Regions from separate parts of the Homo sapiens genome. Here region 1 is linked to region 2. The links are contacts of gene promoters, found by promoter capture Hi-C in blood cells and fetal thymus (Javierre and others, 2016). All regions are on one chromosome and are shown on one strand. The core of a region is centred on a gene start or on the middle of the fragment in contact, and the rest is flanking DNA. Distances in the headings are between cores, read along the strand shown. Region 1 overlaps ALG10 (ALG10 alpha-1,2-glucosyltransferase). Region 2 holds the start of FLJ13224 (a long non-coding RNA gene).

Evidence for each region. The method cuts DNA at HindIII sites, captures the fragments that hold promoters and counts their contacts. A CHiCAGO score of 5 or more calls a contact.
Region 1: a fragment that was not itself captured here is called in contact with the fragment with the promoter of FLJ13224 in region 2 in 4 of 17 cell types (activated CD4 T cells, non-activated CD4 T cells, total CD4 T cells and 1 more); the score reaches 10.4 in activated CD4 T cells.

The regions. Positions count from the first base shown.
Region 1 is chr12:34,026,397-34,031,194 of GRCh38, reverse strand. ALG10 (ALG10 alpha-1,2-glucosyltransferase) reads right to left here. Exons shown (of 3, transcript NM_032834.4): 3 at 2,893-4,798. The coding sequence ends at 4,280. Among named protein-coding and RNA genes, the nearest start is that of ALG10, 6.3 kb to the right of the region's middle. The HindIII fragment of the contact is 2,454 bases long and covers 1,552-4,005 here.
Region 2 is chr12:31,320,907-31,326,043 of GRCh38, reverse strand. It overlaps FLJ13224 (a long non-coding RNA gene), which reads right to left and starts at 1,728. Exons shown (of 1, transcript NR_026806.1): 1 at 99-1,728. SINHCAF (SIN3-HDAC complex associated factor) reads left to right here. Exons shown (of 6, transcript NM_001135812.2): 1 at 1-20. RefSeq lists an enhancer at 1-805. The HindIII fragment of the contact is 3,270 bases long and covers 1-2,610 here.

The DNA of each region.
Region 1 (4,798 bases), core at 1,529-4,028, 2.7 Mb before region 2:
TCCAAAATAACAGTCCACTATTTAGGTGGTATAAATAAAAATGGTAGATCCCTTCCTCTCTCCTCTATTCCAACAATTCTAAGGAAAATAATATCAAGCCAAGTGGCAATTAAGTTCAAACTAGAAATGCATTTCATTAAGCTGTGTATTTATTAGAAATAAATTACACTAGGCTATTTATACAAAGTATTTTATGACTGGCTATGCACATTTCAGAAATAACTCTAAGAAGGCAAAGAAAAGTCCAGACAGCTAAAATAATGTATCTTGCCAAAATGAGATGCTATGTTTAAACTGAGAGATACTATCTTTCCAAATCATTTAAATATAGTCAGACGCAGTTCAAAAGATTTCTGACTATCCATTAATGGAAAACATAAACGTAACAAAATTCACAGCATACCTGAAATCTTACTAATTTACCTAAAGATAACATATCTCTAGAATTTCACAGAAGATAGAATCAGTTCAAAATGATGTATTACTGAACCTATAACGATTTATGGACTAGATCTTTTTATGACACTTTTCAAAACAGACATACTCACAGACTTTAGTAACGGTAACTGTAGGGCTCCATATGCCCTCAAGCAGGGCAACATTTTTTTTCATAATCACCTTATTTTAATCAATTCAGCTAAGTCTAATGTTTAAAAATTCATGAAAAAAAATCCACTCAATAACTCTTAAAAACACAAATATAACTAAGAATATTTCTAAAAGCAAGGATCTAAACACCTAAGAATGGTCTTCTCAGTTGTTTCAAGTGAATGACTTTGAGTTTGGTATCATTTCTTGAACAACTAAAGGCAAAAGGATATGTTGTGCCAAGTTCTTACATAATCATTTTATCTGTTACCTATTTTGGAAAATTCACCAGCAAATGGCCATCTTTGAACTGCCTAGAAAATTTAACCAAGACATTTATCTTAAATTCAAAAGTATTGATAAGCATTCCTGTTTTAAAATAATAAACAGTTGAAAATAGCACCTTTTAATACATGGCATTCTTTTCTTAAAATCCCAAGTACTATATGTATTTTATTAAAAATGTGGAAGATTAATCTGTTTCTCTCTGAATGTAGATTTTCACCAAAACATCTCTTAAAACAGCAGGGACTCAACACTTAAAAATGAACTAGAAGAGCTGGGCACAGTGGCTCACGCCTGTAATCCCAGCACTTTGGGAGGCCGAGACGGGTGTACTACCTGAGGTCAGGAGTTCGAGACCAGCCTAGCCAACATGGTGAAATCCCGTCTCTACTAAAAATAGGAAAAATTAGCCGGGCGTGGTGGCAGGTGCCTATAATCCCAGCTACTCGGGAGGCTGAGGCAGGAGAATTGCTTGAACCCGGGAGGTGGAGGTTTCAGTGAGCCGAGATCAAGCCATTGCACTCCAGCCTGGGGGACAAGAGTGAGACTTCTCCTCAAAAAAAAAAAAAAAAAAAAAAAAAAAAATCTAGAACAGTGATCCCTCCAAAGAGCAGTCTTCTTTAATTACAGGGTAGAATATTTTCCTCAATTTTGCCAGACTAGATCAGAGTGGAAGCTTCTCCTCTCAGAAGTATTCCTAAATACAAAATCCTTGCATTAATATTATCAGACAAAAAGTTATTTTCCCTAAATTATACATTCTTTTTTCAATTTTGACTTCTCGGATTTAGTTCTCTATTATAGTAAATTAATGACAAAAGTATAATTTCTCTGAGTGTCCTCTCTCGTCTAATTTTTAAAAAGTCTGGGTAAAACACGTTTTTCTACAATCACTGTTATAACTAATGCAACTCTATTTTCTGAGTACTAGAGTACAACCAAAAAACGGTCTGTATTTATCATTCAAATTATACTTGTGATTTTCACCTACACACAATTTTATATTTGTAAATGTAGAATCATTACTTAAAACTCAGAGAAACAAAATTTGACATTGAGGGGAAAGTAATTTGTTCACTTATAGCTACTTTTAAAGTTTGGAAACATAAAATTATGTTAAAAGAAGTGTTCTATTCATAATTCTAAGTTTACATGTCAAATTTAACATGCCCAAATAATACTTTCCTATAATGGAATGACAACCCAAAAAATACACTCAAAATAATAAACACAAAATTCAAAAAGTAACACAAAATAATCCTACCCCAGCAGTTGTTCCCTAATCTACAAAATAAGGTCAGACCAAATGATTTCTTAACTTTCAATTCTGACATTTTTTTAAATAGATAATGGAATCAAACACTAGTCACCTTTAGCTTTATATTACCTCAGAAGTCACTTACTTTTTAACCTCTCAGTAAAGATACTGAGAGTTATTTAAAAGGTATCGGCTAAGATATTATCTCCTGATCCAACAATCCCACTTCTGGGCATTTATCCAGAAGACTTGAAATCCGTATGTCAAAGAGAAGTCTGCACTCCACGTTCACTGCAGACAAGTCACAATTATCAAGTTATTCAATCAACCTAAATGTCCATCAATGGATGCATGGATAAAGAAAATGTGGCATATATACACAATAAAATACTATTTGGCCTTTAAAAAGGTAGAAATTGTGTCATTTGCAACAATATGGATGAACCTGGAGGACATTATGGTAAGTGAAATAAGCCAAGCACAGAAAGACAAATACCACATGATCTCACTTATTTGTGTAATCTAAAACAATTAAACTCACAGAAGTAGAGAGAAGAATGATGGTTGCTAGAGGCCGGGGATGTGGGAATGGGGAGATGATAATCAAAAGATACAAAGCCTCAATTAGATAGAAGGAGCATGTTTGACTTTTTTTAGATCTATTACACAACATGGTGAATACAGCTAATAATTAAGCACTGTACATTTCAATACTGCTGAGAGTAAATTTCAAATGTTTTCATCACAAAATATGTCAAATATTTGAGGTGATGGATAGATTAGCTTTATTTAATCCCACATTATATTCAAAAATCATAATGCCACTTTGTTTCTCATAAGTATATACAACTATAATTTGATATATAATAAAAAAAATCTAAAAAGGTAGTCTCCTAACAATCATATGAAGACTATCCTAAAATGTCCTTTAGTAACTGTCATGGACTGAAAAGTATCCCACGAAGAGACAATGTCTACTCAGATCATGTGAATACAAACTTACTTGGAACATGGGTCTTTGTAAACATAATTAAGGGTCTCCAGACACAATCACCCTAGATCAGGGTGGGCCCTACATTCAAAGACACTGTCCTTAAAAGGTAATGAAGAGAAGACAGAGGGAAAGGCCGTGTGAACACAGAGGCAGAGACTGGAGTGAAGATTGCTGTCTGCAATACTTGGACAAGATTTGTCCAGAAGCCAAAGAACTCCAAGAATTGCACACAGCCACAAGATATTAGGAAACAGACATAGAATGTCTGTTTATGGATTCTTCCTTAGAGCCTCCAGAAGGAACCAACTCTGCTGACACTTTGATTTTAGACTTCTGGCCTCCAGACTGTGAGGAAAATTGTTGTAAGCACCCAAGTTTGTCGTCATTTGTTATGGAAGCCCTGGGAAGCTAATACAATATGTATTTCAGAAAGGAAATCCCCCTTTTAAAGGATTATAATCAATACAATTTGTCTTTGGCCATCATACATTTCATATTAGGAATTAGTGAAAGAGCTTCATCATTTCTAGATTGTAAACAATAACCAACAATTTGATGTCTAGACAGGCATATATGAGTCTCTACTTTATCATTTACTATCTATGCATTTGTATTTTGACTTAGAATTAAAATTATATTACTGAAATGTTAAGCAACTTTTCAATCAAGAATATCACCTGACCATTTGTAAATATTTGCTAATACATTGTTATTAGGTTGGTAAAAAAGTAATTGTGGTTTTGCCATTACTTTCAATGGCAAAAACCACAATTACTTTTGCACTAACCTAATATTTCTCTCTGAAGAGAATAAATTCATTCCAGTAATATGAAGCATACCCAGTTTTAATAAACTTGTACATACAAAACATTCCCAAGCTTTTTAAGGGGCCAACATTATGAGAGTGATATGAGATATCTGAAAACAATTTTATTTTTCCATTTTTCAGGCTTTTGAAGCAGGTCTTAAGCTTTCTCAGTTCTTTGCCACTTAATTTCTTACATATGTTTAAAATATATATAAAAAAAACTAATGTAATTTGAAGACCACCACTGCACCTAAAAGAAATTCCATGTTTTCCACCTATTCAGTTGTTCTTTGTAGAAATGGTCTAATTATTAAGTCCATTTTCACAGTTCGAAATATCACTGATATTACCACATAAACCTTTGAATGTCCTGACTATTTGGCCACTGAAAAGTCTTGTTCAGAAAGATGAAAAAAGTTATGAAATTAACAACTGCATAGCAGCTCAGTTCACAAATGAGTCTGGATGTGGGAGGCAGAGGTATGTTAAGCCTATAAATGACATAAGGTAAAATGAAGTAACGAAATTCCAGCAGTTTCTGAGGAACTATAACAGTGAACAAGCATATGAAAAACATTAAATTCCAAAAAATTGACTTTGATTTCAATGAGTCAGCTATACTCCAACCAGCAAATATATAGGCTGGAACTAACAAATATTTTACAGTTTCATATCTTTGAAAAACTCTTTTCCACACATAGAAAGTATAATGTCTATTGTCTGCTAGCAAGTATTTATGAGCATAAGTGAATTTCCAAACTAAAAACACAGAGACTAAGGTAACCACAAAAAACAGAATTCTACGTTTCCAAACTAAGGAAAGAAAAGTCTTAATTTTGCTAGGAGACAGGAGATGAGGAAAGGA
Region 2 (5,137 bases), core at 479-2,978:
GGAACGGCTGCTTTTGGAAGGTGAGTGACTCTCACCATGCTTCTAGTGCAAAACTGTCTCACGAGGCTTTGATTTCAGTGTTTTTTTTTTTCTCTTTTCACCTCCACCCACCTCCCCCCGTCCTTCCACATACACACAGGAAGTTTTGTCTTGGAGGTGGCATTGTTGGGAGCGCTGTTTTCGTGATCTTCAGACCCCAGGTTCTTTGGTACGCTCGTGTTTAGTGTGTATTTATTAATTGGGGAGGGTATTTGAGGCAAACCGAAAGTCTCGGGGCGGGGAAGTGAGTGGAGCCTGGGCATAATTGAGGAGTCGCCGGAGTTGAGGGATCCACGTTGAAGGTGACAATGACTTTTCTCCGCCGCAGTGTTCTCTCGCGGAAAGGAGCCCGGCGGCCGAAAGGCCCGAGAGGAAAGCGACTCGTTGGCCACCGCGCAGCGGCCGGGGTCGGTGCGTCCGCGTGGGCGCGAGGCGCGGGCAGGGTCGGGCGCCGTTGTGAAACCTCGTGGTTTAGTTGACTGCAGCCCTCGGACTAGGGTGGACAATAAACGCCATTCGCTCGGAAACTAAGTTGCCATCCGCTTCCGAGCTGGCGGCCGAGGGTCTTTAAATCGGCCTTTGGGGGTCAGTGCTGGGCTCTGCCGGAGCGCACGCGGCGTGGCGTTGTTTGCTCAACTCCGGAGGGATGCGGATGCGACAATGAGAGCAACACGCGGTCGCTTAAAAACAGCCCGTCTTCCACTCGCCTGCCCTCTTCGGACCGCGCCCAAGAGCCTCTGGTGTCCGGGGTGCTTTCGGAGCCCGAAGTTTTGCTCCCGGTGCGTTCACCTGTAGCGTAGGTGTGGGCGACACCGCGAGGGCTTCCCGTTTATGGGCGGCCGTCCGCGCTGTAAGATGGCCAGGGAAGCCAACTTGGCTGGAGATGGAGGCGGCGGCGTTGTGTACGCCGCGGGAGTCAGTGAACTCCGCAGGGCACTGCTTTTTGTGCTCTACGTGACAGACCACGTGCTTCGGGCTGCGACCCTGGTCCTTGTCCGAATGTCCAGCCCCGCGTGAGCCGTGGGATGCGGCCGCCGTCGGGCAGGTCCGGCCGGCAGGACAATGTGGTTTGCTGATGATGGCGTCTTGCCAGTTTAAAAAGCAGAGTGAAAGTCGCCAACTCTCCGCCCGTGCGGGGCGGATACTCCGGGCGTTTCTCATCAAGGACACTGCAAAACTTTGATTAAATGGGCCTGCTCCCGAGGGGAGGGTCGGGGGGCCAGGCTCCGGACTCTTCGGGGCGCGGGGTCCGGACCCCTACCCAGGGTGATCGTCCAGTGTCCGGCCCCTGCGAAACGCTCCGACATCCCTGATGCTGCACGTAGGCAGCGCCCGGCTGGACAGAAAACAAAGGGCTGCATGTGCCCGTGCGGGCCCCCGGCGCTCGGGGCCGCCGCCTGGGCGTAGGGCCGTGCAGGTCGGAGGCCCTCGAAGTTCGGGCGAGTTTCGGGAGGGGCTTTTGTCCCTCAGCCCCCTCGTGGGGAAACTTTGGCGGCGCTACTTGTGCGAGGTGCCATGCTGGTGCGTAGGGAGGCGGCGTGCTTCCCCGCTCCGGGCGTGCGGGCGGGCGACCGAGGGAGGCGGCAGTGCCCGGCGCTTCAGCCCTGGCGTCGGGGGTTGCGACGGCCGAGGGTTCCGGGGAGCTTGGCCCGGACTGCTCGGCCGGTTTCTCGTGGCCCGGGAGCCTGTGTCTGGGAGGTCTGTGGGTTCGCCTTTGAAGTCGAACTGTTGCCATGTTTGAATTACGTCAGGGCAAAGCCATGAGGAGGAACAAGCCCCGGCAGCGCGGCGTGCGGGAGGCGCGGCCTGCGGGAGGCGCCGGGCCGGGCTGGCGCGGGGCCCGTTGTTCCGGCGCAGGTGAGGGAGGTGGCGGCGAGCGACGCGGTTCACCTCCCGCTGCCCTCGCCCTCGCCCCGGCGAGCGGCCCCCGCAGGAACTTTCCTCCCGACGCGAGATGTCTTATTTACCAACAAATCCACCAGGGAGCATTCTTACTTGCTGGCTCGGCGTCTCTCTCGGCAGTCACCGGAGTGCCCGAGGGGGAAGCACGATTTACGGAAGGTGGGGACCCGAGGGCCCTGGGAGGAGCGGGGAGGCATTTTACTGCTTTCAGAGAAACGGGTGAGGGCGGCGAGCACCTCCTCCCCAGCCGAGCTGTGGCCCGCAAGTCCAGGGGACCCAGCCCCGACGACGCCCGATAAACCACCGTGGGGAAGTTCCGGGGCTCCCTGTTGCCCTACTAAGGGAAGTGAGGACTGTGGGCGAATTGTGCGTGCGGCCAGTTTCTTTGTGTGTTTCTAGGGGGTGGGGGGAGCGGGGAAGGGCAAGGTTTGTTTTGGTGTAGGGGGAGTTGGTTTCTTGAGGTGGTAGGGCGGTGCAGTTTGTTCTGGTAACTATGACCCTAGTCAGTTTCTTTGTTTTTATTTTCTTCCTGTAACCTTCCATTACTTCAGGCACTCGGAAGATTAGGATTTACTCTTGAGTTAAACAGGGACCCTATCCGAGACAGTTTTACCCCAGCAATTCTTTCTCCCCCTTCTTAAGTTGTCCTAAGGAGGGTTAAGAAAAGCTTTTCTTTTTCTTTTAATAATTTAAAAATGAATTTGACCTTGTTATTCAGAGTACGCTGAAAGCACCTGTTTTTGAACTGGAATTTGCCAGACTTGAAAAGCCTTTTAAAATTTTATGTCGCAAAATTGAACACATTTAGTTGCCCAATCTAAAAGTCTGGGAGTTTGTTTCTGGTGGAGTTTCGGAGAAAACCCTCATGGCATTTAAAGTATTTATATAATGATTTTGGGAAGGGGGATCTTTTTTAGGCGAAAGGTATGCGTGACTCAGTGTTTGGTGGTTATTCAGTGCCTTAGGATGACCTTGAAGAAGCAAATGTTTAGGGAGTTGGGCCTTTTGGAAACATTGTAAGGAGGCTGGGGAGCTGGCTGGGGAGGAAGCTGCTCAGGAAGATGACACAGGGTAACGGCTAGCTTCTTCCCAGATCCCGTGAACTGTGGTTGACCTTCTGGTTACCTCTCCTAGATTTTTCTTTTCAAGCTAACCTTTTCTTTTTTTGTATGTGGCCCCAGGCATAGCTCAAAAATTATGCTGGTTTGACACATGGATGCTTCTTTGGTATTTGGGGTTTGCCTGTAGTCTAGACATCCGATACCCACCACCATATCTGTTGCTTCTTTCCTGATTTCTCCTGCATTTGAATCATGTGTAAGGCCTAGAATCTAAGTGATCATTACTAGGAAATAATACCCTTGAATGCCCCTGCCCCCACACACCTAAAAATCGATACTAGTTGAAATCCATTTTTTTTCATTATTTTGTTATTAATAAACCTATTTTTCCCAAGTTTTGGTTGACCAAATTACAATACCAAAAGGCAACCTATATTAGTACATTTCTGTAGTAAATAGAAAGAGCATGTCAGGAAAATGAAAAACTTTGGACCTATTTTTCCCAAGTTTTGGTTGACCAAATTACAATACCAAAAGGCAACCTATATTAGTACATTTCTGTATTAAATAGAAAGAGCATGTCAAGAAAATGAAAAACTTTGGATTTAATAACTTTGGCTTTCCTTTCGCAGCTATTTCTCTGGGTCCTGTATTTAAAATGCATATGAGGTGCTTTGCAAATACGCTGAGATTGTTTGAGTTGTTTTTCTTAATTAGTATTTCATAGCTAAGTTATGGCTAGAATTTCCATTTCCTAGCAGATTTCATATACTACATACAGAGCTTAATGGTTTTTGTTTTACTAATTAGATGATGTAAAACAGAGATTTGGATTATCAATGTGAATGAATTCAGGGTGGGAAAGACCCACAGACAAGGTCTCTACTGCCTTCTCTTTGTATTGCTTTTGTGGGAGGTTGGAGATACGAAGTTCAATTGGTAGAATATTCTAGATCACTGGTGGACAGCAGGCCCCAAGTCTGTCTGTCCTTGCACAGTATTCTTAATTCTGTATATCTGGAACCTGAATGGTCAATTTTTTTTTTTTTCCCCCAGAGTGGTTATCAAGTCCTGGGAAATCCTGACTCATAGGGCTCAAACTCAGACATATTTATGTCAGAGAAGCAATTTAAGAACCATTTTACATGTAAAATAAAAGTTTTTCACTGGGGAAAGCATAAACTTTTAAATCTAAACCAACTATACAGGGCTCTTATGAGGATAAATTAATCAATTTACCATGCCAGGCACATAGTAGGTTGCTTTAAAAGTATGTCATTTTCGTTTTTTCTTAAGAGATGGTAGGAATATAATTGGTTGAGCAGAAAAGGAACACATGTATTGAGGCACGAAGTTTTGCTGTTCAGAGGTTTCTGGGTTAGTAATGCTTGGGTTTCAAAGCTGTCATCATCTTATAGTCACTTTGTGATCCAGTTTTTTTCATCTGTAAAATGGTAGTAATACCTATTTTAAATAAGTTGTAATTAAGCCAGTGACATGATTGATAAATATTAGCTGTGTTGTCCTCACAACACTGGGAAGTAGACATTTTACAGAAGATAAAACTGAGGCCTGTGTCAGTTATCGTTTCTGGGGAAACATTAAGTAAATTTTTAGTGGAAAGAATGAGTGTCTTTGGTCCCCTCCCTTACCTTAAGAAAGCAGTTCTGGGAAGACACTGCCCTTGACTCTTGGTTGTCTTTTCAATTCTGATTCAACCATTTTACATCAGAAAGTCCTGCGGAAACCTGGAAAATGTCATTTTTCTTTCTTCCTGATTTCTCTTGTCCACAAGATTGTCTTGTATTTCCCACACTTAAGTTTTGATTTTGGGGTGTTATAAATTGAGACTTTTTTGTTGTCTTTTGTTTCTCCAGTTTTTTATTGAATCTGCAACTAGGATTTTTCTGTATTATGGAAATAATCTGGAAATGTCATCTAGTCCAAAAAGGGAGTTTGTTTTCAAGGTAGGGAGGTTTTCTCTTTGCCTCAGAAATACTAATGTCACAGGTACACCGCTGTTACATATTCAAGTATGAAAGTTACAGTTGAACTAAAAGAATTTATTTCTAGCTTTGTATTTAGTTGTTTTCCACCTATTATAAGTTTGGTTTGGCTTACTGTTATTTTAATTT